Linked DNA regions of Homo sapiens: all the other regions are linked to region 4. The links are contacts of gene promoters, found by promoter capture Hi-C in blood cells and fetal thymus (Javierre and others, 2016). All regions are on one chromosome and are shown on one strand. The core of a region is centred on a gene start or on the middle of the fragment in contact, and the rest is flanking DNA. Distances in the headings are between cores, read along the strand shown.

Evidence for each region. Contacts are between HindIII fragments. The CHiCAGO score rates a contact against its expected background, and 5 or more counts as called.
Region 1: a fragment that was not itself captured here is called in contact with the fragment with the promoter of PDCD10 in region 4 in 2 of 17 cell types (activated CD4 T cells and naive CD8 T cells); the score reaches 8.0 in activated CD4 T cells.
Region 2: a contact is called between a fragment that was not itself captured here and the fragment with the promoter of PDCD10 in region 4, in 1 of 17 cell types (naive CD8 T cells). The highest score is 5.9, in naive CD8 T cells.
Region 3: a contact is called between a fragment that was not itself captured here and the fragment with the promoter of PDCD10 in region 4, in 2 of 17 cell types (non-activated CD4 T cells and total CD8 T cells). The highest score is 7.3, in non-activated CD4 T cells.
Region 5: a contact is called between a fragment that was not itself captured here and the fragment with the promoter of PDCD10 in region 4, in 2 of 17 cell types (non-activated CD4 T cells and neutrophils). The highest score is 7.1, in non-activated CD4 T cells.
Region 6: a fragment that was not itself captured here is called in contact with the fragment with the promoter of PDCD10 in region 4 in 1 of 17 cell types (non-activated CD4 T cells); the score reaches 7.1 in non-activated CD4 T cells.
Region 7: a fragment that was not itself captured here is called in contact with the fragment with the promoter of PDCD10 in region 4 in 2 of 17 cell types (non-activated CD4 T cells and neutrophils); the score reaches 6.6 in non-activated CD4 T cells.

The regions. Positions count from the first base shown.
Region 1 is chr3:170,170,808-170,174,672 of GRCh38, reverse strand. It overlaps PHC3 (polyhomeotic homolog 3), which reads left to right. Exons shown (of 15, transcript NM_024947.4): 3 at 1,961-2,116; 4 at 3,223-3,300. Among named protein-coding and RNA genes, the nearest start is that of PHC3, 9.0 kb to the left of the region's middle. The HindIII fragment of the contact is 1,241 bases long and covers 1,841-3,081 here.
Region 2 is chr3:169,954,749-169,958,524 of GRCh38, reverse strand. It overlaps the pseudogene FHL1P1. Among named protein-coding and RNA genes, the nearest start is that of SEC62, 10 kb to the left of the region's middle. RefSeq lists an enhancer at 3,493-3,772. The HindIII fragment of the contact is 4,378 bases long and covers 1-3,776 here.
Region 3 is chr3:170,369,101-170,372,843 of GRCh38, reverse strand. All of the region lies in intron 2 of SKIL (SKI like proto-oncogene), which reads right to left. Among named protein-coding and RNA genes, the nearest start is that of SKIL, 13 kb to the right of the region's middle. The HindIII fragment of the contact is 192 bases long and covers 1,929-2,120 here.
Region 4 is chr3:167,732,265-167,736,479 of GRCh38, reverse strand. It overlaps PDCD10 (programmed cell death 10), which reads left to right and starts at 1,588. Exons shown (of 9, transcript NM_007217.4): 1 at 1,588-1,818; 2 at 2,130-2,266. It overlaps SERPINI1 (serpin family I member 1), which reads right to left and starts at 759. Exons shown (of 9, transcript NM_001122752.2): 1 at 657-759. RefSeq lists an enhancer at 1,337-1,776 and a silencer at 1,827-1,956. The HindIII fragment of the contact is 6,113 bases long and covers 484-4,215 here.
Region 5 is chr3:170,346,579-170,350,700 of GRCh38, reverse strand. No RefSeq gene overlaps it. Among named protein-coding and RNA genes, the nearest start is that of SKIL, 9.1 kb to the left of the region's middle. The HindIII fragment of the contact is 2,988 bases long and covers 1,209-4,122 here.
Region 6 is chr3:170,223,200-170,227,300 of GRCh38, reverse strand. The region is part of intron 1 of PRKCI (protein kinase C iota); the gene reads right to left. Among named protein-coding and RNA genes, the nearest start is that of PRKCI, 2.8 kb to the right of the region's middle. The HindIII fragment of the contact is 629 bases long and covers 1,470-2,098 here.
Region 7 is chr3:169,976,042-169,979,923 of GRCh38, reverse strand. It overlaps SEC62 (SEC62 preprotein translocation factor), which reads right to left. Exons shown (of 8, transcript NM_003262.4): 3 at 2,873-2,978. Among named protein-coding and RNA genes, the nearest start is that of SEC62, 11 kb to the right of the region's middle. The HindIII fragment of the contact is 776 bases long and covers 2,142-2,917 here.

The sequences.
Region 1 (3,865 bases), core at 1,212-3,711, 2.4 Mb before region 4:
AGATAAAAGGATTCATGGCATTATGGCTCAAGATGTCCTGAGAGACCCTCAAGCTATAGGATTATGGCACTATTACTCCCTTAGCTCTTTGAAAACTCTGGTTTGATGCTGCGATTAGGGTTCTGTGCTGTTTCAGAGTCACAGTGAGCACAATGTGACTTTCGGATTTGGTTGTATAGGATTGACTTATTCTGACTTAACCTTTTGGAGAAATGTAAGAATTTTCTCTGATTTTAGTAGAGTACTTGACTTTTCTATATTTATTTATGAAGTTTCAGGCTCAGATTTTACATTTTACTAACAAATATTCACAGTAATTAACACTTTTTAAGGAATTAAGTAAGAATAGTTTTATTCAATGTTGAAGCAAAACAAGGTATTTGACATTTAAAAATTTTTTAAATTATTGAGTAATTTTCTAAAGAAGAAATAGCTTTATAATTTTATTTTTTATTTTTATTTTATTATTATTATTTTTTTGAGATGGGGTCTTGCTCTGTCGTCTAGGCTGGAGTGCAGTGGCATGATCTCTGGTCACTGCAGCCTCCACCTCCTGGGTTCAAGCAGTTCTCCCACCTGAGCCTCCTGAGTATCTGGGATTACAGGTGCATGCCACCATGCCTGGCCAAGTTTTGTATTTTTAGTAGAGACAGGGTTTCACTATGTTGGCCAGGCTAGTCTTGAACTCCTGACCTCAGGTGACCTGCCTGCCTTGGCCTCCCAAAGTGGTGGGATCACAGGCATGAGCCAACCTGCCCAGCTGCTTTGTAATTTTATATGATTATTAATAATACCTGCTCATTGTAAGATTTTCAGACATCTATAGAAGAGTATGAAGTAGAAGCTAAAAATCACCTCTAATCTAGCTACCCATCAGTGGTCTTTGAAAGTTTTCCTGTGGATTCTTTCAAATATTTTAATATAAAAATGGTATCTTACTCTATATACTATTTTGTAACCCACTGATTTTCTTTTTGTTAGTAAATATAGATCGGTATCAGCAATGTACACTATAGTGGCCAGTAGTTACTTGTGGCTGTTTACATTAAAATTAAAATTAATTAAAATTCAATTTAAAATTAACTCAATTCTTTAGTTGCACTAACCACATTTTAAGTGCTCAGTAGGCACATGTGACTAGTTGTTACTGTATAGGACAGCACTGATCTACATTACTATTTGTTATGGTTGCATGGTAAAGGTATTTCTCTCCACACCCAAGCCCTGAATTCTACGAAGTTTTATCCAAAAAGGTTATGCCAACTTGAATTTTTACTAGCAATATGGGAGTATTGGTTTCCCCAGGTAGTAGTAGTATTCTTTTAAATCTTTATCCATCTGAAAGTTGGAAAACAGTATCTTGTTTTAATTTGTAAGTTTTTGACTACTGGTGAGATTGAAAATCTTTTGAAATGCTTAGTTGGCCTGGCCTGTCTTTTGCGAATTGTCCACTGGGTTTTGTTTTGTTTTTTTTTTTTTGAGATGGGAGTCTTGCTGTGTCGCCCAGGCTGGAGTGCAGTGGCATGATCTTGGCTCAACTGCAGCCTTCACCTCACAGGTTCAAGCGATTCTCCTGCCTCAGCCTCCCGAGTAGCTGGGGCTACAGGCATGTGCCACCATGCCTGGCTAATTTTTTGTGTTTTTAGTAGAGACGGGGTTTCACCATGTTAGCCAGGATGGTCTTGATCTCCTGACCTTGTGATCCGCCCACCTCGGCCTCCCAAAGTGCTGGAATTAACAGGCGTGAGCCACCGTGCCCGGCCCACTGGGTAGTTTTAATGTGTACAAGTTAGTGATTTCTAGTGATATGTAACTAGGAAAGAAATAATGTTAATAAGCTTGATGATATTATGTATTAAAGCAGTGAAATTTTAAACTGCCACTTTTTTATACTTTGATTTTCTGATTAAGATAAAGGTTGAGATTATGGTTTGACATTGGTTCAATTGACTTATCACAGGTAATTCAACAGGCATTGCATCGGCCCCCCAGCTCAGCTGCTCAGTACCTTCAGCAAATGTATGCAGCCCAACAACAGCACTTGATGCTGCATACTGCAGCTCTTCAGCAGCAGCATTTAAGCAGCTCCCAGCTTCAGAGCCTTGCTGCTGTTCAGGTAAGACTAAAATAAGAGTTTATGAGATCAAAGTTTCTGTTATCTGTAGGTAGTTACTGAAAATAAATAGATTGGGTATTATTTCAGAGTTCTCAGATGTCCTGTGGTTATTTTTCCCGGAGGAAATATATTAATAGGTTGCCGAATAGAAGTTAATTGAGAAAAAGGGGATATGTTTTTTTATGTTACTCTGTTTCTAGCTTTTGTCTCAGTGCTTTTTATCCAGATTGAAGAAATGCTATGCTAGTTTATGTGTATAAAGTTCTAGGTACAACAGTGAGTACTTAGGCTTACATAAATTGTATTTTTACTAAAAATAAGATTAAAAAAATTATATAAGTAATTATACTCATTAAAAAATCAAACAATATTAAGTTGTTTATAAGAGATAAAGTAAAGCTGTTCCTTTTCCCTGTCTATCACTGTTTCCCGTTCTTCAAAGGTGGCCACAGTAACAATCTAATACATATTTCTCCAGAAATTTTTTATACAAAGATAGGTATATCCATTTTTCTAAAATCCAATCATATTATTCCTACTGATAACAGGATTTCATTATTAAATGCTTGTTTTTAAAAAAGATTTTTGTTACTATTGTACTATTTAAATAAAGCTGTGTAAGATTTAATCTTAAATCCCCTCACCAGAGGAGGATCTCAATTGACTGAACCTGAAAAAGGTTTATTTCTGTTACCAACAGATTCTCAGCTGTTGCTTCTTAGTAGTGTAATTTTTAAATAACATGTTTGTGATACAAGTTAGGAAACTGAAACCCACTCACTGGCTCTTGCTGTAGCTCTAATTTCTTTTTCATAACTCTGGAGTAGTGATTCCACTTTAAAGATGACAGAGACCCATAAAGTGAAACTGACAATAAAGTAGCTAATAAAATAAGATTAGTCTTTGGATCCCCTGTTTTCACCATTCAGCTTTTCCTTATTTAAAAAATCTGTTTAACCGAAGCTTAAGCCATGTTGACTATAAAATTAGTTGTTTCATACATAGGCCTTTTGACATTTATTGTTGTGGTTTTGTGTTATCATGGTACCAGAAAGTTCTTAACTTCAGGTTTTTACCGACATATTCTAAAAGTCTTACTATTTTAGGCAAGTTTGTCCAGTGGAAGACCATCTACATCTCCCACAGGAAGTGTCACACAGCAGTCAAGTATGTCCCAAACGTCTGTAAGTTCCCTAAATTTTTTTTTCCTGGATTTAAAATTTTAAAGAATTGTTTTCCAAAAGTAAACTGTTGTTATTTATGAAGCTGTTATTATAATTTGTTGCATGCTGTTTAAAGTAACAATTGCCCAGAAATAGAAATGATAAAATTCAAGAATTCAGAACTAATGTTAAACTTATGAAAATCTGAGTCTTAAAAAAATCTTTTTGTATTATTTCTTGTATATCCATTTGCACTGATCATGTTCAGATCTTATGTGGTTTCAGCTTTCTGTGTGTATTGAAAGCCTAAAATATACAATGCAGGGATATTGGCCATGAATTTACTGTGATATACAATAGTATGTCATGTCCTTGGTAGACATCTAAGCATTTCTAACTTTGTGCAATTCACATTTTAGAAATTATACTTTCAGCTTACATGAGTTATTTGGGTTCAATTTGCAAGTATCCATTCAAGATAGGGTAATTTATTTTGAGAAAGGAGTAAAAGAAAGCTGATTCGCTATATTGCACATATATATTGGGAAATTGTGCCAAGTTTCCCAGGTAAAATAAATTTATGGGC
Region 2 (3,776 bases), core at 430-2,929, 2.2 Mb before region 4:
AGGAAACTAAGACTTCCAGACCTGGACCTCACTTGCCGATTGGGAAAAAATCCTCAAACCTATTCCTTCTTACACTGGCCTCAGATGATTTTCTGACAACTCTTGTACTCATGTGCTGTTGTCCAGCTGATGTTTAATAATGTGGATGTCTCTGAAATGAAAAGAACAATAGGCCAGCAAACCTTACAGACTGGATATTTTACCTTTTAGGTAAATATTTAAATAATTTGGCAGAGGTTGTTATAAGTAGTAATTATGGGTCCACCCCTAAATTAAGGCTACTAGTTATTCAATTATTTTTCCTTGAGTATTTATATAAGAAACTACTAAACGATAACACTTTATAATCTTCCGTGTCATGTAAGAAATGTTCCGCTTCCTGTGGCTCCAATTATTCTATCATTTTTTTTTATTCTACATATTGCCTCTAGGTTATACAGTTTTTTTCCTTCCCCTGGTAAATGAAATCACTACATTTAAAGTGGTATATTGCTATATTTTAGGCAAACAGCAAAAAATATAATAGGTTTCTTGCCTAAGCTGTACCTCCTAAGGAAAGGGATTTGGGGGTCTTGATTTTTCATCTGCCAAATGGAAAATCTTCTATCCATTTTCACCCAGTAACTGACAATCTGAAGGTCAGTGTATTTAGTGCTCGATTGTCATAATAAAATAGTCCCCAGCAGAGATGTCTTCAGATTATTGCAAGGGCAAACCAGGATTACTGAAATATTTTCACATACAATTGTTATACTGACCTTCAACTTCTGATAATAAAATAAATGCTGAAATTTTAGAGAGTGCTTTTAAGAAATGCCTGAATAAGCCAACATTTGACTAATCAAAGGATAAGTTTACTTGTCCAGTTTTAAATTCAAGCATGAATATAATTTTTGTAATTAATATGTATCTTTACACTCTCTACAAACCAATATTGTAATAAGTGAATTTTGCTGTCTTAGTTTTTAAAATTTATTTTTATTATTCCCAACTTGTCCTTTTGAAATGCTTTTAGACTTATTGAGAAAGTTGCAAAAACTAATATGAAGAATTTTCACATACTTTTTACCTAGCTTCTACAAATATTATATTATGTAACTATAGTACCATTTTTGAAACAGGAAATGAACTTAGTATTACTAAGTAATCTACAGACCTTATTCAGATTTTGTCAGTTGTCCCATTAGTGGACTTTTTCTGTTCAGGATCCAGTCCAAGCTCACCAGTTGCATTTAGTTTTCATGGTTCCTTGGTCTCCTTTAATCTGGGACAGTTCCTCAGTTTTTCTCTTTCATAACTTTGACTCTTTGAAGAGTACTGGCCAATTATTTTGCAGAATGTTCTTCAATTTATGTTTGTCTGTTATTTCCCAATGATTTAATTCAGGTTATACGTTTTGTCAAGAATATCATAGAAGTGACATTGTACCCTTCTCAGTGTGTCTTGTCAGGAGGAAAGTAGTTGATGTGTCTTGTCATTGGTAATGAGGCACTTTGATCACTTAGTTAAGATGGGATCTGGCAGGTTTCACTGCTGTAAAGTTACTGTTCTTTCCTTTGAAATTAATATGCATCTTATGAGGGGATACTTTGAAACTATGTAAGTATTCTGTTTTTCATCATACTTTTGTCTATTAATTTTAGTATCCATTAATTATCTCTGCCTGACATATTTATTACTGTGGTGTTTACCAAATTGTGATTTTCTATTTCTGTCATTCCTTCTACATTTATTGTGATACTACTGTAGGGAAGAGTTTATTTACTCATTTACTTATTATCAATTTGACCTGATCCTCTAGAGAGTATCAGTTAGATGCGATTTGTGAGTGAGAGTCAACATGGTGACCTTTGTACATCCATCTACCATGGTTCTGTTGGCATCCACCGATTTATGCCAGGGGTGCACAGCTTTCCAAGAAAAAGACTTGAAACTCTGTGAAAGCATATAAAACATGGTCTGATGGACTAGTGTGGTCCTCATGAGGGCACGAGTTTTGGAAAGAACAGTGTGGGACATAAGAGGAAGGAGCACCCTGTAAGAGAAGAAGGAGCCCAGCCTGGAAAGTTAGACCCAGAAATAGAGCATGGGCTTCAGATGGGGTGGAGATTTTAGATTATTGCTGTAGAATTTACCTCAACACAGACTTCTAGCAGTAGGTATGATCCTTGGCAAAAGTTGTTTAGCGTATTAATTAAAGGAACTGTGAGAGTAAATGGTCTAATACATTAGATCCACACAACCTTACTGTGGGACCCTGTACTGCTGCACCTGAGTGTCACCCAGATGGGGTATTGTCCTTTTCACTTTGTAAGGTCAACTGTTTGGATCTGTAGTCTCAAGGACATTTCAGTTCCAGCTTTACCAGCACAGCTGCAGGACTGTAGCTCATTGACACTAGATGTAGCTCTAGGCATTGTTGAGTTTCCACTCCACCAGGACCCAGGGATAGCCATGGGCTCAGGAGTTGTTTCAGTTCTGAGTGATGCTTCTATGGAACCACCTGCCACAGAGGATGTGTTCAGCTCACCAGAATGGGAAATAATGACAATGACGGGCTCATAGGCACATGTAATATCCCTGAAGTCTATAGCAAATTTATAGAAATAGGGACACTATTAAACATTGGATCTCTCAGAAAAAGGCCCTTGCCAGATGACAGCCCTTTGGCCTTGGACTTCCCAGCCCCCAGAACTGTGAGCCAATAAATTTCTGTTCATTATAATAATAATAAAAAACTGGATCTCTTACATGCAGTTGAGCAAGTAGGAGGGGGGGTACTATTGAGGCTTAGGCATTAATATTATGTTAAACAATTTTAAATTGGGAGACCATTAGGCTGGAGTGACTTCGAGCAGGTTAAGTTCCTACATAAGTAAACTGAAGCCCAGTATGAGTGTGAGTCACTCATATTGCTGGAAGAGTGTAAATGGGTGCAACCTCCAGACAATGCAATTTTGCAGCATCTGTGAAAATTTTAATTACATAAGCACCTTGGCCCAGAATTCCACTTGCAAGAATGTGTCCTACAGATATGCCTGTACCGATATGAAATTGTATATGCCATACATAATAAAAAGTTTGGAAAGAGCCTGAAAAAGTCTATCAGCTGGCTAAATGAGACTGGTTAAATAAATCATGATAGTCATACATGATGAGATGTCATACAACATTTTAAAACAGTGAGGAAGCTCTTTAAGTACTGTTGTGAAATAATCTCTAGGTATTTTAGGTGAAAAATTTCCAATGTAGTATGTTAACATTTGCAATAAAAAAAGAGGTTAAAAAGAATATATGTACATTTTTGCTTGTTGCAGGAGGGGATTTAGTGGCAGGAGGACAAAGTCAGAAGAGAAATTTTTCACAGTATATCTTCTTGAGCCATGTGACCATATGCTCTAATTTTTTTAACTATAAAATTTAAATTAAAAAAACCACAAAAATTCGACGCAAGAGCAGCAGCCACAGTGGCTGAAGATGAGAGGACTCCTGTGCCAGCCAAGGTGGAAGCAGAAATTACTCCCCAGTCTCCACTGACTACAGGAACAGGAGGGCCACACACCCATTTGGTGGCCATAACATTGAAAGCTGGGACAGCAGGACTGGTCTGGACCTGAGGCGTAAAAGACAACACTTGCAGCCAGCCCTGGTACTTGCATAGTGGCAAAATGTCCCAAGCTGGAGGAAATGGATAAGAATTGGGTACACATCACCCGTACTGGGAATAAACAAATGTGTTCTGATTATTTGGAAAAAGCAGACATTCTAGGGGTAGG
Region 3 (3,743 bases), core at 775-3,274, 2.6 Mb before region 4:
ATAAAATATAATGCATATGAAATGCACATTACTTTGTTCTGACCCAAAATAAATCATTAGCAACCTTACTAAACATATGACTGGATACACAGGAAGTGAATATATCTCATCAGGGTCTTTTTGCTGTGTATAATACTAAGACATTCAAGTGGTCAATAAATGATTTCAGAAGTATAAAGACACCCTACCAGATAGCTGCCAACAACTCTTACCAAAAGAAACAGAATCCCTCAGTACACTATCAGGTTTCCTTAATATTTCCAACATGTTGTGAGTTAGTGTTTCAATAAATGAAACAGAACAGTGTTACAAGGTAGCAAATAGCTACTTAGAGATTTCAAGGCTTAGTCTTGGGCCTCACTTCTCTGTAATCAATAGAATTGATCAAATTAATGCAAAACTGGGACAGTATGATCTAAGCATCTGCACTAACTGATCAAAAACAGATCGTCAGGAGTCACAGCAATGGCAGCTGTTTCCACAGGCTGAAAGATCATACCACCTACCTCACAAAGCCAATTTTAGGTTTGAGATACTTAAAAATGCTCACAGAAAATGCAAAGGCTCGAGTTCTTGTAATATTTTGCAACTATTATTTTGAGTCCTTAATGGAAACAAAGCCATGTAAAGTTGGTAATATAACATCCCCTTTAGAACTTGAAGAAAAATACACTGATAAAAATCCTGTTAATCCTGTGACATTTTATACTGAAGGTCTGTGATGCCCAATAAACTTAATACTGCAACTACATGGAAATCTCAGTGTCATACACATTATTTTCCACTATTTGTCAAAAATTTTAATCTGTATAATTCTAAGGCTTTACTTTTCTATCTCATTTTAGCATATATGCTTAACAATTTACAGTCCTGGATTATTCTGGCCTTCAAATAATGTAAACTGGCAATTTCAAAACAGAGATTGATTAATCTTCCTATGTGCAATGTCCTCTATTTTCCATTTTATTCTACTTCAGGTTTTTATGTTTTTTAATGCTGGTGACCCACTAAATTGATTTCATGACCCTCCTGGCGGTTTTCAATTGAGGTTCTCAGGAGAATTTAAAATGCCCCAAGGCATCCATTGTATGTAATGAATTACCTTCTCTCCAGTGCATTTAGAATGGTACCAGTACGATCACTGGGAGAAATGACAAAACCAGCACTCAATTCATTTTCTGTAGTGCTTAAATCTCCCCTTATGGAACCCTGCTTGAGATGGCTACATGAATGACAAATTGCAGTTAGAAAAACACTGCTCTAAATGAACTGTCTTAAAATTGGTCCAAAAGTATTATTCCAGTAACTACTCCTTTTGTTTTTCTTTTTCTTTTTTTGAGACAGAGTCTCACTCTGTTGCCCAGGCTGGAGTGCAGTAGCACGATCTCCGCTCATTGCAACCTCCGATTCCTGGATTCAAGCAATTCTCCTGCCTCAGCCTCCCAAGTAGCTCTAATTACAGGCGTGTGCCACCATGCCCAGCTATTTTTTTTATTATTATTTTTAGTAGAGATGGGGTTTCACCATGTTGGCCAGGCTGGTCTCGAACTCCTGACCTCAAATCATCTGTCTGCCTTGGCCTCCCAAAGTGCTGGGATTACAGGCGTTAGCCACCGCACCAGGCCTACTACTCCTTTATTAATACTTATGCACTCTAGAAATGCTTTTGCACAAACACAGTTACAATTACATACGCAAATGAATAAATTCCAGAGGCAGTTATCACATGGTGCAATTATGAGGAAATTGTGTTTTCTTCTTTGTACTTTTTTAGTATTTACTACAATGGGCCTATATTGTTTTCATAATCACACAAAAAAATTTAACATAGACTATAAAAAGCATAGAAGTCTTAAATCATTTTTATTAAGTTTTGTTTTGTCTTGTTTTTTTTGAGAAAAACAGGGTCTTGCTCTGTTGCCCAAGCTTGGAGTGCAGAGGTGCCATCACAGCTCACTGCGGTCTCAACCTCCCCAACTCAAGCGATACTCCCATCTCAGCCCCACAAGTAGTTGGGACTACAGGCATGCCCCACCAAGCCCAGCTAATTGTTTTTTTCAATCTTTTGTAAAGACAGGGTCAAACTATGTTACCCAAACTTTTAGTAAGTTTCTTAAGCTTTTTAATTCCTTGTTCCCATAAAAAATGCAAAATATGTACTTTTAATGCCATTTGAAATCTCAGAATAAATTCAACATCACAAATAAAAACGAAATGCTGGTTTGTTTTAAAACTAAACCTGTTTCCCTCTTCGAGAATCACTGGTAACTTTATAGGGCCACTTAGACTTCACTGTTATCCAAACCTTTATTAGGCATCTACCACATTCTAGATTCGAAGACTGTAAGATATAAGAAGACTGTAAGACTATAAGATGAACTCCTGCTCGGGGGGGGGGGGGGGGCTCTCTCTCTCTCTCTCTGTATATATACATATATATGTATATATAGAAATATTACATATTTCTATGATCCACTCTTAAGTCTAGAAGTCATGAAATCAAAAGGACTCAAACTAATTTTATATCTTTCCTATTCATTCTTTCTGCCTAATATAATGAGTTAGTGATTGAAGCAAACCACATTTTATTTTATTTTATTTTTTTGAGACGGAGTCTCACTCTGTCTCCCAGGCTGGAGTGCAGTGGCGCGATCTCGGCTCACTGCAAGCTCCGCCTCCCGGGTTTACGCCATTCTCCTGCCTCAGCCTCCCGAGTAGCTGGGACTACAGGCGCCTGCCACCGCGCCCGGCTAATTTTTTGTATTTTTAGTAGAGACGGGGTTTCACCATGTTAGCCAGGATGGTCTCGATCTCCTGACCTCATGATCCGCCCGTCTCAGCCTCCCAAAAGTGCTGGGACTACAGGCGTGAGCCACCGCGCGCAGCCGGAAGCAAATCACATCTTACAACAAGATGCATTGTTTATATATTCTTTTGCTTTCTAGAGTCTAATAAAATCCTTATTTTATGTAATATGAATCCCAGTAGAATAAAATTCTATATGTGAACAAAATACAGATTCAAGCTATTACCAAAGCTATTCTCAAACAAGTTCTACCCCTTTACTAGGAACAAACTGAATTCTAGCTCGACAATCACTTTCCACTCCCAGAATTCTAAAGGGATTAAAATTAGCCCAATTCGCTGGGTGCGGTGGCTCACGCCTGTAATCCCAGCACTTTGGGAGGCTGAGACAGGCAGATCACCTGAGGTACGGAGTTCGAGATCAGCCTGACCAATATGGTGAAACCACATCTCTACAAAAAATACAAAAATTAGCCAGCTATGGTGGCACATGACTGTAATTCCAGCTACTAGGGAGGCTGAGGCATGAGAATCACTTGAACCCAGGAGGCGGAGGTTGCAGTGAGCCGAGATTGCCTTATTGCACTCCAGCCTGAGCTACAAGAGCAAAACTCCTTATCAAAAAAAAAATTAGCCCAATTCTTGATTACTTCTTTGGTTTCCCAGTGGCATAATTGATAACATATGCACTGCTACGAGAAAACTACTGGCTGACTATGATGATCCAGGCCTACTCTGAAAACACGGCCATCTCTTTTTTGTTTTTCTTCTTTAAAGTTTCTAAGTTTTTTCCCATTTCTCAAACAAAAAGGATAAATTTCTAACTTTCAAAAATCATATGCTAACAATTCTATTTTTTAATAATAAAAATAAAGAGGCTCTATTTCCTAAACCACAGGGGGCACTATTTGCAAAGCCACTCTACAGATTTCAAAAAA
Region 4 (4,215 bases), core at 339-2,838:
TTTGTTCCAATATTCCAGAGCCACTGGGAAGAAAGCTAACTATCCATTCATTAAAATTCATTTTTACATTATTGCTGGCAAAAGTTATACTTTTGATAGATTAAGTCAGAGCCCATCCTATCCTGACTATTCCTGCCTGCACTTGCTTCTTTAATACGGATTTCTTGCAATTCTAGGAAACTGCAAAATAACCACCCTGGATAACAGGTCGGTAGCAGGACAATCTGATAAACCAACGTAAAGGGTAGACACTGAAGAAGAATGCAAAGTTATTTTCCTAGTGAAATAGTTCAGAAGTTATTCTATATCAATAGCAAAATTTTTGCTTTTTATAGGCTACGCACCTATAACATCCACCAGATAACATCCACCTCGTCCTCAATTAGCAGGATTTTTCTCAATCTTCAGATCTCCCAGAACAGTTTTACTGGTGCAACTCAAACCAAAAACACTAACCACGCCCTTTATACCCAGAGTCAAGCTTCCTTTTGCTTTTTTGCCCTTAAAGTCGAAAAATGTAAATCTTTCACCCGAGAGGTTTTGCACCGGTTTCCTAACCCAACGCGGACTCTTTTAGCTGTGTCTTGATGTAATTCCTATTGGAAGACGTTTTCTCCAGGGCAGTGCAGACGCCCCGAAGAAGGACCCACGCTTACCTCCCACACACCTGCAACCCCTGACGGGATGCTGGAGCTTGTGCTCGGCGGACTGTGCTCCGCTCCGCTCTCGTTCCTGCTTTCGTCTCTCCCGGGAAACTACAGTCCAGACTGCGCCTCTGGCTTCTACAGGGACCCAAGCTCCGCCTCTCCCTCCTCTAGTTGGCGAATTTGGCAGCTGTTGCTCCTCCCCCTGCTGTTTCTGCAGCTGCCCGGACCGGAGGCAGCGGAAAGCAGCTGCCCTGGTACCTTTCCGCTCCCTGCACTTCTGCAGCTGCTCTGCCACTTCCACTCCCGTGGGGGTCCCTCTCCCCTCCTCTGTGGCTCACACCTGGAGCGGCCTCCTGCCCCACCCAGGCGTCTCTGCTGGGAGCCCCGGCTCAGCCTATCCTTCCCCGACCTGTGTGTCCGGATGCCCGGTGTGCCTGGGGCTTAGCTGCTCTCAGGGAAGCTGCCCCTCTGCCCAGTGCAAGTCCCCACACCAAGCCCTCCCTTCACCTGGGCGATTTCCCCGAGGCTTCCTCTCCACCCACACGGCATACTCAGCCCGACAGCCCCAGGATCCCCACCACAGGCCCCTCACCCCCTTCCTTCCTCTGCTCTGTCAGCCCGCCCCCTCAATGGGTGAGGCGCCTGCGGGGCCTACTCCGCACCCTGATTGGCGCAGGTGAGGGCTTGCCCCGCCCTTCCTCTCCTTTCCGTGCACCATCTCTCTTCATCTCACCTCCTCCCGCAAAGGCAGGGAATTCTCCTACTATTGGCTAGAAGTGTCACCACCCATCGCCTCAGGATCCCCCGCATGGCCTGCCGGGAAGTGTAGTCTTCCGATTGCAGGAATTGCGGACAACGCCGGCGAGCGGGACTACGAGTCCCCATAAGCCTCTGCACGACTCCGGCTGGGCAGGATTCCGGACAACGCCTGGTTCCTCTTGGGTCCTTCCGGCGTCGCCGGAGTGAATTGATCCGGGAGTTGAAGAGGGCTGCAAGGTGGGAAGTGAAGTCAGTGCCTCAGTTGCTGGTAAGGTGTAGCTGTTCTGTCCCAGTCCCCGTAGCTCTGCACCGAGCAGAAGAGGTCTAGGGTCACGCAGGGGCCATGGCTGAGGCACTTGGGCTTGGTTCTGGCAGGCGGAGCGGACGGGGCTGAGAGCGGGGCCCTACGGGCGTAAGCGAGGTTACCCTACGCGAGTGGCGTAAAGCGGGTTTGTAAATGCCGCCTGCCGGCTTGGGCCCGAACGCCTCCAGGAAGTCTCCTCTAGGTGGGGGCGGGAGGGGAAGGGCGAGGTTGGCCCCTGGTGCCCCGGGAGAGGGGACAGGGCGGATGTGCCTGGGGTGGGGTCCTTTGAAGGTGTGGCTTCGGACCGAGAGGTGAGGCTGCTGTTTTCCCCCTGCTTTGTAAGTAAGAGAAAAGGGAGGAGGAAGGAAAGGGTGCTTGGGAGTCGGCTCTTGGGGGTGACTCGGGTTATGCCCTTTGAGGGAAGAGGAGCACTGGAAGAAGGAAGAGACAAATGTTGGGGTCTACGGATTCAGTTCCAGTTTAATGATGTGGCCCTCTAAGGAGATAATTTTGCCTTAAACAGAAAGACTTGACCCTCTTAGGTGTCATACCTAAGGTATGTTTTTACTCCTTTACTGCTTTCAGAGCGCTTTCATTTTGGGATGCTGATGAGGAAACCGAGGGATTATATGACGTGCCCAAGGTCACACACGTAGGGACAGACTTTCTGAATCTAGTTCGGTTCGAGTCCAGCTTTAGAGTAGGGACGTTGGTTGTGCTTTTTGAAAAGGGTGGAGGAAGTTACAAAGTAAATGTATTTTATATAGTATATCTAAGAAGCCATTGTGAGATAAAAAGTTGTTTCTTGAACCGGAGTGAAATTCCTCAATAAAGGAAAGATCCTTTTGGAAAAAATAAAAATGGCCAGTTTCAACTTTTACAGATTTTTCCCCTTTTTTTAGGGGTGTATTAAATGATAGACTCTACTCTCACAGTTCATTTTTACGGGTAGGTAATAGGATGGGAGAACAACAGTTAAACAATATATCCCATCCTTAGAAGAATATTCTTTTCTTTTTCTACCTTAGGACTGTTTTTACTCTCATTTTGTAAAACTGATAATAGTGGGATTGGAATTCTTTCACAAAACTACACTTTTTTCAAATAATGTAGCGTTAGGAGAGTTTAGTGTGCCCATTACTAGAAAAGAAGGTATTTTGCATTTCTTGGAGGTAACATCGTCTTTTTTGAGACTTTACTTTTCCCCCATTTTCTTGACTCTGGGCTGTATTTGTGTGTGTGTCTGCAAATAATAAAATTGGGCTCTTGCATATTTTTATTTTTCTTAGCATCAACTGTGACTTTCAATTCATTCTTACTTTACATTGAAGAATGAAAAAACAGTACACGTATAGTTCATATCTTGCAGAAAGTAGTGCCTTTATGCAAGTCTTATCCTCTATAATGATTATGACCAGTTATAGCTCATGACTATTATTATTGGATAAGTTTTTAATAGAATTGTTAGAGTATGTTCATTGATGGCAGAATTTATTTGTGATAACTTTATATCCATACAGGTTAGCATGTAATAAATCATGGCTTACTCTTAACATGTAATAAATCATAGCTTACTGTTTTATATATAAGTTGATCATCAGACTATGCTGAATTTTGAATGTACTCTGCAGTTACTATATTATCAACAATGTGCTTCACTTTTTAATGGAAAAACATTTTTTCGGAACAGAGGTATTATCTTCCCTGATGGTTGAAATTAAGATGGTCTGGAAATTAATACGATTTTTAAAATAGAAAAAGTATGATACTATAGAATGAAGTAAAATCAGGAATAATGTACCATAAGTAATGTAGTACACAGACAAGGAAGACCCAGTTAAACAAATGGAAAATTATGTGGTGATAACTGACTTTGTGCTGGATTAAGAAAGGTGCAGTGATGTAAGTAGACCGTAAACTGAACATGAGTCAGTGATGGTAAAGCAAGAATATTAATCTGTTTTCTAGATGACAATGTAGGTATTTGCCTTTTGTTGAAGGAGGTATGAAATAAGTTCTAACCTTTGGCATGTAACTCTGTCATTATGGAAAGAGCTTTTGAACTATGAGGAAATTTTGGAAATTAGTTAATGTAATGCATTTGTTCAGTGTGTTTTAGATTTTGTTCTTGGTTCATTTCTGCCACTACTCTTTATCTCTGAGGCCAATTATAGTTTTGATATTTCTTCTATTCGGATGGTGGATTAATGTTTGTATTGTTGTTATCATCTTTCAGTCACATGCTGCGGTACTGTTGTCACTTTAGATCTCTGCACGTTGGATAATTAGGAGTTCACAGAGTTATGTGTACACGTGGTTTGCAGCTCACCAGTGTCTGCATTTCTTCTCATTTTGAACTTTGCAGGAGCCTTATGTCAGCTTTTGGACATTATTTCTTAGAGGACTTGGGATGTCTTCCGTATATTATACATCTGTCTGTTTCTCTTAAGGATGTAAGGTCTGTAAGAATAGGGGCTGTTTATTATTGTAGTCTGAGTAGGTAAG
Region 5 (4,122 bases), core at 1,453-3,952, 2.6 Mb before region 4:
TAAACCAACTTTACGATTTGCTTCCTGTCACAGAAGTAACTCTCTATTTTCAATGGTTAGAGGGCTGTGCTGTCCGATATGGTAACCACTAGCCACAGGTGGCTACTTAAATTTAATTAATTAAAATAAATATTTAAAAATTCAGTTTCTTAGGGTTTTTTCTTTTTCTTTTCTTTTTTCTCTTTTTTGTTTGTTTTTTGAGACAGGGTCTCACTCTGTCACCCAGGCTGGAGTGCAGTGGCGAGATCTTGGCTAACTGCAACCTCCGCCTCCCAGATTCAAGGAATTCTCCTGCCTCAGCCTCCTGAGTAGCTGGGACTATAGGTGCATGCCACCATGCCCAGCTAATTTTTGGTAATTTTTCACCATGTTGGTCAGGGTTGTCTCAAACTCCTGACCTCAAGTGATCCATCCGCCTCTGCCTTCCAAAGCGCTGGGATTACAAGCGTGAGCAAGGTGAAAATCAAAAGAAAACTGGAAGTGAGTACTGCAGAAACACTAGGGGACAACTGTGAAGTACCTGAACCAGTAATTGCAATCTATGTCCCTACCTCCCACTCTATGCAATAACTTGAGGAAAAAAAGGATATTAAGTTGGCTCTCTGAGAATTACCTGTAAAACAAACAAAACGAAAGAAACAAAAATGGGAAGGAAAGAAAGAGGAAAGGAAGCAGACAGAGGCAAAGTCACTTTAAAGAGAGAAAATGATTCTCTGTTCAGAGTAAAATTTGACTGGATGCATTAACAAATCAAAATAAATGTATCCTTCAAAAGGCATAATTCGTCAGCAGGGTTACAAAATTATCTCAGTTGTGGAGATTAAAGAATCAGCCTCAATGTATTCAGAAAGTAAATCAGGTGTTTACCTTCCCTTATTCTGAATTTTTTTTTTTTTTTTTGAGATGGAGTTTCGCTCTTGTTGCCCAGGCTGGAGCGCAAGGGCACAGTCTCGGCTCCCCGCAACCTCCACCTCCTGGGTTCAAGCAATTCTCCTGCCTCAGCCTCCCGAGTAGCTGGGATTACAGGGATGCACCACCACGCCTGGCTAATTTTGTATTTTTTTAGTAGAGATGGTTTTTCTCCATGTTGGTCAGGCTGGTCTCAAATTCCTGATGTCAGGTGATCCACCCACCTCAGCCTCCCAAAGTACTGGCATTACAGGTGTGAGCCACTGCACCCAGCTGATTTTTTACCCATGAAATAAGCTTGTGATTATAATGGGGCACTCAAACCATTTGCACCTGGAGTTCTGTGCCAGTGTAAATGCTCCAGTTCCTTTTCTAACTGTAAACCCATGTATGGCATGTTGGTTGTGTGCTTCCAATGCTGTACGTTTAGTTAAGATGAGTCTGCTCATCACAGACCAGATCAATCTTGTTTGTTGACAAAATCGGGTATCTGAACCTTCAAGGCAAAGAGCCAGGTTCTAATTAACCCAGATAACCTTGGTCTGGCCAGGTCTCTGGCAGACAGCAAGATGACCTCCCTACCAACTCCCTGACCTGTTCCAGGAACATATCTTCAAAATATTATTTTCTAAGTAGGATCAGGAGAAACTGTGGAGATCCTTAATGGATTCTGCCATGGCCTAATAAGAACAGAGAACCAGAGGGGTTAGATACGGAAGACTATGAGACAGATGGGTTAATCTAAAGGATGATAGCAGGAAAATGAGAGGGCCAGCAGCATTCTTACCTAGGAAGTACTACTGGGCACTTCAGAATTGAATATCCCCATAAGAAAGTTGTTTGATGAGACCCAGAACTGACTTACTGAAATGAAGAGTAGCACAACCAGTGTTTTTAAATAGGAAACTTTTCATCTTGACTTCTCCTTTTTTTTTTTTTTTTTTTTTTTTTTTTGAGACAGAGTCTTGCTCTATCGTTCAGGCTGGAGTGCAGTGGCGCGATCTTGGCTTACTGCAACCTCCAACTCTCAGATTCAAGAGATTCTCCCACCTCAGCCTCCCAAGTAGCTGGGACTACAGGCACATGCCATCACGCCCGGCTAATTTTTTGTATATTTAGTAGAGACGGGGTTTCACCATGTTAGCCAGGATGGCCTCAATCTCCTGACCTAGTGATCTGCCCACCTCAGCCTCCCAAAGTGCTAGGATTACAGGTGTAAGCCACCGTGCCCAGCCTCATGTTGACTTCTTACTACCCAAAAAGTACCCATCAAAGCACCAGAGCAATTTTTCTGAAAGTGGGATTTGCCAAGTGCCTGCACCAGAATCATCTAAGGAGCCTGTTAAAAATATGGGTTCTTGGGCCCTAGAACTACCAAATTAGAATATTAGGGATCAGAATGCAGGAATCTTCCTCCTTTAACCCTTTTTTTTTTTTTGAGACAGTTTCACTCCATCACACAGGCTGTAATGCAATGGCTCGATCTTGGCTCACTGCAACCTCCACCTCCTAGGTACTAGCAATTCTTCTGCCTCAGCCTCCCAAGTAGTTGGAATTGTAGACGCGCACCACCATGGCTGGCTAATTTTTGTATTTTTAGTAGAGACGGGGTTTCGCCATGTTGGCCAAGCTGGTCTTGAACTCCTGACTTCAGGGTGACCCGCCCACCTCCGCCTCCCAAAGTGCTGGGATTACAGGCCTGAGCCACTGTGCCCGGCTTTCTTCCTTTAATCTCTATTAAGCAAGCTCCCAAGTGCTTCTCTGTCCTCTCAAGTTTAAGATGCTCTATACCAAGTGAAGGGAAGTATACAGAAAAAGTAGAGGGAACAGTTCCCCTACCCAAAGGGTGACCAAGGGACAATGGTGGCAGCAGGGTCACTCAGATTGGCCACTCAGGCAGGCAGGACAAAAGTGTAATGCAGACTTTCCTAAGAGAAGGAACAGGCCCGACTGTCCAAGATAGGCCCGCTGCTCCACCACCTTGAAAGTAGTTTTTTAAATGCTCTTTAGCAAAATTGGCATAATTAAGTAAAAGGAGCACTCTGGAATTCTCTCTCTGTTTCTCTCTCTCTCTCTCTCTCTCTCTGGGCAACATGGCAAGACCCCGTCTCTACTAAAAATACAAAAAAATAGCCTAGCATAGTGCTGCACACCTGTGGTCCCAGCTACTCAGAGGCTGAGGTGGGAGGATTGCCTGAGCCTGGGAGACAGAGGTTGCAATGGTCCAAGATGGCACCACTGCACTCCAGCCTGGGTGACAGAGCAAGACCCTATCTCAAAAAAAAAAAAAAAAAGAAAAGAAAAGAAGAAAAAGAAAAAAATGTCAGGCCGGGCGCCGTGGCTCACGCCTGTAATCCCAGCACTTTGGGAGGCCGAGGCGAGCAGATCACGAGGTCAGGAGATCGAAACATGGTGAAACCCGGTCTCTACTAAAAATACAAAAAATTAGCCGGGCATGGTGGCGGATGCCTGTAGTCCCAGCTACTGGGGAGGCTGAGGCAGGAGAATCGGTGAATCCGGGAGGTGGAGGTTGCAGTGAGCCGAGATCATGCCACTGCACTCCAGCCTGGGTGACACAGTGAGACTCCGTCTCAAAAAAAAAAAAAAATTTCAAATCCTTTGACTCAACAATTATTCCAAGAAATGTATCCTAACAAAGAGAGTGGAAAAAATGCTAAAAGATGTATAACAAATATGTGCATCAACGGCATTTACCATAACAAAAAATTAGAAACTTTCTAATTGAATTATTTCAATCATGATGCATGCAACTCCTCCATCCTCTTCTAACAGAAACCATCTCACTCACTTACTCTGGCCTTAGGGTATTCTCTGAGCAAAGGATGGTTGCTGAATGAGTCAGGAGCAGGGACCAGAACCATAGTCTAACCAAAAACCTAGACTTAGCCTGACCCAAAAAGCCCAGCCCAGAGGGTTAATACTGATTAATTAGGCCAATTAGACTTTCTCTTTTTATAATTTAACAGGAAAAGACGGAGTTAGTTAGCCAAGTGGAATTTATGCATTTTCCCTTATAAATGAGTTATATATTAAGTTATATATTAAAACCTCAGGCAGTAAAATGATTATTTGCAAATATGCCTAATGTATTAAAGTTATTTTCCAGAAAAAAATGTTAACAACACTGTTGTTTTATTCATTAATGTTTCAACCACTTCCCAGTTAAATTAGTTACGGTAGGTGGTCAACATA
Region 6 (4,101 bases), core at 535-3,034, 2.5 Mb before region 4:
ACGTTCAACAATATTTACTAAACTCAGTTTGAATGATCTCTGGTTATATTTGAAATCTTAAGCAAGACTGGAATTTTTAAAATCTATGTTTAAATTAGGCTCATTTCAATCATAAAAAAAACAGACACTAAAGTTGTAAAAGGAGGGCTGCAGTTGCATTAGAAAGCCATCATGAACTAAGGACCTGTGGGGAGAATTTTTCTGTGCAGAGTTGCTCCTTTCTCCTTTGCTTCCTCAGTTTCTGCTTCTTCACATCTTTCATTTGCACATTGTCAGTTCTGGCCTCGCCAGACTCTCCCTCCAACTCCAGCTTCAGTTCCCAGTGCTGACCAATTTTATCTCCATATTTTCTCATTCAAATTTCTGAGGGTTTTTTGTGTTTGGTTTGGGTTTTTTGGCACCAGGCTAGCATGCTCTATTTTTTTCTCTCTTTGGCCAAGCTATGGATCAGCTGCCCTAGGATTAGGTGCCATGGCTGAAGCTCTAAGACCAATTAGCTAACATCCCCCCAACCCTCAAGATACCACTTGTATTTCCTCAGAACCATTACTAAAGTATATTGCTAAAATAATCTTGCATTTCTTTCAAAAACAAGTCTTGCCAAGACTTGTTCACAGTAAGAAAAATCCTACATACTTCTTCACTGAAGCAGCTATTCCAAATATGCAAAGAGTTAATCTTTTATTTCTAGATGTGCACAGAAGGAATCCTCTGTATTGTTATTACTACTTGACAGCAGCGGTTTAAAAAGAACTTTCACAAGCTTTCTGCAAAAATTTCCATACATATATAATGTAAAGAAATGAGCAGTCCAGATGTTGCCTTGTTAAAGTCTATCCCATAATAGCAAGTAATTTTATATAAGGATAAGCACATACATTGACAGTTTATCACTAATTAATGAAACCTGTTTCTCTTCCTCCAAACTACTAGCACTAGGTAATAACTGAAGGCCCCTCACTGAAAAGCTTCCTTGCTAGGAAAAGACGGGTGCAGGCCATGAGAAAGGCATCTAAGTAAGATGTGGTGTCCAATAAAATTGAATTTTCAGTGCTATTAATCTCTTGCTTAAAAACTAGATGTAAATTGGCTGGGCAAGATGGCTCATTCCTGTAATCCCAACACTTTGGGAGACCGAGGTGGGTGGATCACTTGAGGTCAGAAGTTGGGAGACCAACCTGGCCAACATGGTGAAAACCCGTCTCTACTAAAATACAAAAATTAGCTGGGCGTGGTGGTGGGCGCCTGTAGTCCCACCTACTCGGGAGGCAGCCGCAGGAGAATCCCTTGAACCTGGGAGGCGGAGGTTGCAATGAGCCGAGATCACGCCACTGCACTCCAGCCCAGGTGACAGAGCGAGACTCCATCTCCAAAAAAATAAATAAATAAAATAAAATAAAATAAAAATTAGAAAAAAATTAAATGTTATTAGATCTAGAGAGATTACACGTTTTCACTGAGATCAAGCTTAACAGAATAATAACACTATACACATCTTTGAAAAGAGAGGGCAATTTTTTCACTAAAAAAAATGCTGGCTATTAAATGAGTCAACATTCACTGGAAAGAAATATTGTTAGAAAAGGGTAGTGGAGCCAGGTACAGTGGCTCACACCTGTAATCCCAGCACTTTGAGAGGCTGAGGCAGGAGGATCACTTGAGCCCAGGAGTTTGGGATTAGCCTGGGCAACACGGTGAGACCTTGTCTCTATTTAAAAAAAAAAAAAAGAAAAGAAAAGTGTAGAGGGATAGAGGAAATGCTATGTAATAATGGCCCTTCAGAAGATTGGAGAGAAAAGAAAACTTTTTCAAATGCAGAATGTTCTCACATTTCTTGGTATAAAGGAAGGATTTTCTATTTTAAAATCAGGTAGGTGTTCTAGTTAGCCAACCTGTTTATTAACTATCCTTGTCCGTGACTCATTTTAGCTTCATCTATATTAATGAGCAGCTGACTATGTAATACCACAATCATCAGTTTAGACTATACAAACACATAATCTTAACATCTAATTTCAGAGGACAGGAATTTGGTACAATTTAGAGTGCTGATATTGTCTTTAAATGAGGCTTGAAATGAAGGTACCATTAGAAAGCTTTCATTGAGCAAAGACCAGTATACAATGGGCAAGAGGTTATTTGCGCCGCAGCAAAATTTCACAGATTTTAAAAGACAATGTTACCTTGAATGTCTTGGAAAAATTGCAGTCAAACACTAAAGAAGCTGTATGTCCTTATTCTCTTCTTTTTAATAACTGGAGCAATAAGCCAAGATAATTTGCTATCTAAATTCATGAAGTACAGCAAGACTTTGATTTCTTCTCAAAGGAGTTTACAATGATTTTCATTTACTAACTGGGCCTATTTACATGTGTCAAACTAATACAAATGGGAAAATAGAAGCACTAATTTCTTACCTTTCATAGACTCATTGGAGAAGATGATCTCAATTAATAAGAATTTATTGAAAGCCTTAGGGCCAGGCGCAGTGGCTCATGCCTGTAATCCCAGCAATTTGGGAAGCCAAGACGAGCGCATCATTTGAGGCCAGGAGTTCAAGACATGCCTGGCCAATATGGTGAAACCCCGTCTCTACTAAAAATACAAAAATTAGCCGGGTGTGGTGGCACATGCCTGTAATCCCAGCTACTCAGAAGGCTGAGGCAGGCGAATTGCTTGAACCCGGGAGGCGGAGAATGCAGTGAGCCGAGATTGTGCCACTGCACTCCAGCATGGGTAACAGAGTAAGACCCTGTCTCAAAAACAAACAAACAAAAATAAAATAAAAGAATAAAGTGAAACATCTCATTCATCAAATTACAGGTAAGGGTTTAAAAAAAAAAAAGCAAAGGAAGCTTTTTTCTCACCTTGCAAAGTTCATGGCTGACCATCCTCAAGTCAAAACAGCTCTTGTGACAACTACAAACTTTAAAAAATATCCACACGTTTCTTGGTACTGATTTAAAATAAAAACCTCCTTAATCAGTTTTACCTGCTTAAACACAAAGTTATCATACTGTCCAATATAACTCCAATAAACTACTCCTGCATACAGTCAAGCTAATAATAAACAGAGGCCAGAGGCTTCATGGCAGCAAATTTAAAAGTCCTTACATCAAGGACAAAAAACCAAACACCGCATGTTCTCACTCACAGATGGGAATTGAACAATGAGAACACATGGACACAGGAAGGGGAACATCACACCCTGGGGACTGTTGTGGGGTGGGGGGAGGGGGGAGGGATACCATTAGGAGATATACCTAATGTAAATGACGAGTTAATGGGTGCAGCACACCAGTATGGCACATGTATACACATGTAACTAACCTGCACATTGTGCACATGTACCCTAAAACTTAAAGTATAATAATAAAAAAAAAAGTCCTTACATCAAATCAATACAACATTTAGGGGCTCAGATTTTCTTTGAAATCAAAACAAGAGAGGTAGTTTGAGAGTTTGCTATCTTCACTGATCCTCTCAGGAATGTAAAAGTATGCATTAAAATTTCAACCTAGCACTGCTTGAGTTTTTTAAAGCAATTTACTTCTACCTGGACAAGCAGTAAGGCAAGCCAAAGTAGCTGGGTTTTCTGTGACTTCTCAGTCTCCAACCTTTATGGTCACACTAACATTTCACGTTTCTAATGCTCCTAAACATAATTATCTCAAAAAAAAATTCAAACCACAACTGAATTTAAAGGAAGGGGGGCACTTTGCGTCACTGATAGAAAATGATTTAACACAATGAACTTAGAACTGGGTTTTTTCTTGTAACCATAGTAAGGGAGTGAAGATCAGAGAATTTAAAACTGTAACTAGGCTAGTCTCCTCACCTTGCAGTATCTCACCCTATCGGGTAGTCGTTGAAACAACACTGAGAAAGAAAGGCTCACAAAATTTTGATTTACACACATGCAACTTAATCTTGACGACACGTAAGTACCCACTGCACGTCCCTGAAAACGCATCGACTTGATTCTTAAATACAACCCCTATGTCTAATATACTGGCAGTGCAGATACACTACGTGAACACAACGGGGATGGAGGTATATCTCAGAGAACCAGAGGCGTTAGGCCTGCTGGTAATCAAAACG
Region 7 (3,882 bases), core at 1,280-3,779, 2.2 Mb before region 4:
CAAAGGTGAGTTTTTATGAAGTGCTCACACTGTGGTAATTGCTATGGAGTTACAATAAAGTATAAAACAGTCTTACAATTGTTTTCAGATTTAGCTGGCAGGAGATTTTAAAAAAACTCACACATATGTAGCAATTCTAAAATAGTTAAGGGCCAAACTGGGAGGTACTAACTTGATAAACTCAGTAGAACTTTAGATACAAAGGCTGATGAAGGCTGGAGGGCCTGGGGAAGAGTACATTCGGTAGAGGAAGGACTTGAGGGATTTGTTTGTGATTTTGAGAGGCAGGTGGGACAGAGGAAACAGAACCGTTTAGGGAAAGTGGCAAGTTATGATAGGAAAAAGACTAGAAGAAAAAATGAGTGTGGCATGTGCACAAGACTGAGGACGACATAACTGGATTGGGGGTCAGTGATACAAAGTCTTGTGGAGACTTAACCTAGTATGTATGAGTTCATTCATGATATAGGCCATAAAAAGGTATAGATCACATTAGAAAAGATTGTTTTATCATCCTACATTTTCCTATTTTGTTTTTCCTCAGACTCCCTCATGCCACTTAGCTGCCTCAGAAAAACTGACAGTATTGGAGGATGCCAAAAAAAGAAAAAAAGAAACTGGTCAAGAGACCCTTTGTGATTTTGTCTGCTATTGGGCAGCAACTCATGAGAACTGGCCAATAAGACTCTACGGTTATATTAGAAGTGGCTCTGGAGACCTTAAAGTTATGCTATTCTCATTTATTTTAGTGCAGAAAGGACTCAAACAATCTGACATCAGTGGGAAGAGCGTATACAATGAAAATCGAGTGTCTTTGGACACTCTCTGTACTCAGGTCTTTTGAGCTTTTCAAATAACAAGGTACCAAGGCTCCTAAAAAGCCAAAAAATGTGGATTCATACTGGCTGCTCTACTCAGAGATTTGGGCTTACAGATCTAATAGCTCCATTAAATGCATCGTCATTTTGTTGGAGGAGACAGTATAGAGCGGTAGTTAAGAACACAGACTGTGGAGACAGGCTGCTAGATGTAGAACCCTAGATCTGCCACTTGCTAGCTGTGTAGCCTTAGATAAAGTACTTAAGTTCTCTGTGCCCCAGTTTCTGCATTTGTAGCATCTCTTAATTTTTACACAACATGTAAAAAATACATCAGTTTTGTGGCAGGTAAGGAAGTTTGTACTTTTTGGTTTGTTTTTAAGACAGAGTCTTGCTCTGTCACCCAGGTTGGAGTGCAGTGGTGCGATCTCGGCTCACTGCAACCTCCACCTCCCGGGCTGAAGCTATTTTCATGTCTCAGTCACCCAAGTTGCTGGGACTACAGGTGCATGCCACCACGCCTGGCTAATTTTTGTATTTTTAGTAGAGATGGGGTTTCGCTATGTTGGCCAGGCTGGTCTTGAACTCCTGGCCTCATGTGATCTCCCTGCCTTGGTCTCCCAAAGTGTCAGGATTACAGGCGTGAACCACTGTGCCCAGCCTGGAAGTTTGTACCGTGGAGCTAATTCTATTCACCTTTTTATTTTTTCCCCACGAGCAGATTCAAGTTGCCCTGGATATATGCTTGCTGGAGCTAATTCTAACTAGACAAGTTGCTACAAAAGACAAGCAAATATCAACTGCATGAGTGTTAGCTCATCCTTGTCTCAACAATGTCTCACTCTGTCGCCCAGGCTGGAGTGCAGTGGCGCAACCTCGGCTCACTGCAAGCTCCGCCTCCCGGGTTCACGCCATTCTCCTGCCTCAGCCTCCCGAGTAGCTGGGACTATAGGTGCCCGCCACCACACCTGGCTAATTTTTTGTATTTTTAGTAGAGATGGGGTTTCACCTTGTTAGCCAGAATGGTCTCGATCTCCTGACCTTGTGATCCACCTGCCTCGGCCTCCCAAAGTGCTGGGATTACGGGCATGAGCCACTGTGCCTGGCCGAAACCTACTGTTTCTAAAAGGTCTGTTAGTAACCTCTAGTCTTTGGCAACTAAGAATTTTAAGAAATATTCAATAATTCTTTAACTTGACAGCTTAAGAAACCAGGTTGTGAAATAGTGGTTTTTAAGAGGGTTCTTATGTGGCTGATACTTTAGGTGCCATTAAATAAAATATTAGTACACATAAAATAATCTAAAATCCCAAAAGATAAGCTTTAGTGTTATGAAAACAAAATTTAGTTAACATATATTAAGAAAATGCTTAGTATTAAGTAAACCAAGAAAAAAAAGAAAAGAAATGGAAAGAAAAACCAGCATACTTCCTTCCAAAAGGAAGGTGATTTTGTCTTTTAGGTAAACCACTTAACATCAAAAGTTTTTTCAAAACAGAAAAAGTATCTATTATGAAAAATATATGTATATTACTGAATTAGCTGTATTTCATCTTGAAATTCTCAGAAAAAGATAAGGTAGATGTTGCAGCTTCCTTGATTTTAGAAGAAATACTACATTAGCAAACACTGAACCAAATAGGAAAGGGTATGAGGCTTATGGCTCAGGGTGCAGGCACTAAAAAAGTAGCGGTAACACAGCTAATAGGAATTCCTGCAAAAGTTTTGAAAAAAAGACTCCTCAACCAATTTGCTCTACAAAAGAAAAAACTTTCTTTTCTACTGTAGGCACTGGTATATGACTTTTGTTGCTGACCCTTCAGTAGGGCTCACAAATATATAAAATAGAACATAAATAAAAATTATATACAGTTAAAAGTATAATAGTCTAATACCAAACACATTTCCAGAGGTACCAAAGAAATCAGGTTACATGTGAAAACAGTATTTGAGTTATGTTGTAGTATCACTACATTTAATGATGTAAGGAGCTTCAGGACTATGAAGAAAATTTAAAATTATTATGTTATTCTTCACTAAGAAATAAACAGTACCTGTTGCAGTAGTCAACCACAGACTCCCTGGTTGTAAATAAAGCTTCCTCTCCTTTCTTGGCCTTTGCCCACTTTGAATCCAAAAGACAGTCCACTGCTTTTGAAGCTAAAGAAGAAATTCATTATTTTAAATTTAGCATACATGGGGATTTATGTCTATCTAAATAATATTTTATAAAGTAAAATTTCAACACTCTGGCAACAAAAAAGAAAACCAAACTCAACAGAAAACTAAATCTAACATGATCATGATTAGTAGTTCCCCAAAACCTCAACTTGTGAACTATATTAAGTATCTTTTAAAAGTAATGTTGGGAAATAATGGCATTCAGAAAGACCAACTAAAGCAAGTTAAATTAATGGGGAAATATTCAAAAATTTAAAATATCTGTATGTAACTATCACTCTTATTAATCACAAGCATATGTAGATAAACCAAAATGTTCACCACTCCCTGCAAGTAATAAAAATTCTCATCAAGTTTTACTCTAATACACTGAGGAAGAAGCTCTGTCAACAATCCACTGCTGTCACAAGAAACAGCTAAACATATTATATCTGAAGAGATTAGCACATCTACTTTTTAAAACTTGTAATGAATGTCAAATCATTAAAAACAGTAAAGAAAGAGACGATAAAGGACTTTTCCTCTACACTGGCAATTTAGTTTTTTTTTTCTTCTAAGAGACAGGTTCTTGCTCTGTCACCCAGGCTGGAGTACAGTGGTGGGATCATAGTTAACTGCAGCCTCTAACTCCTGGGCTCAAGCCATCCTCTCACTTCAGAGGCGCATGCCATCATACTCATCTAATTTTTTTGTAGAGATGGGGTCTCATTGTGTTGCATAGGCTGGTCTCGAACTCCTGGCCTCAAGCAACCCTCCTGCCTTGGCTTCCCAAAGTGTTGGTACTATAGGTGTGAGCCACGACACCCAGCTGCAATTCACTTTTAATTGATGAGAAAGGCAAACTCAACCCCTACTTATAAGCTCTGGTGTTATAAATGACATC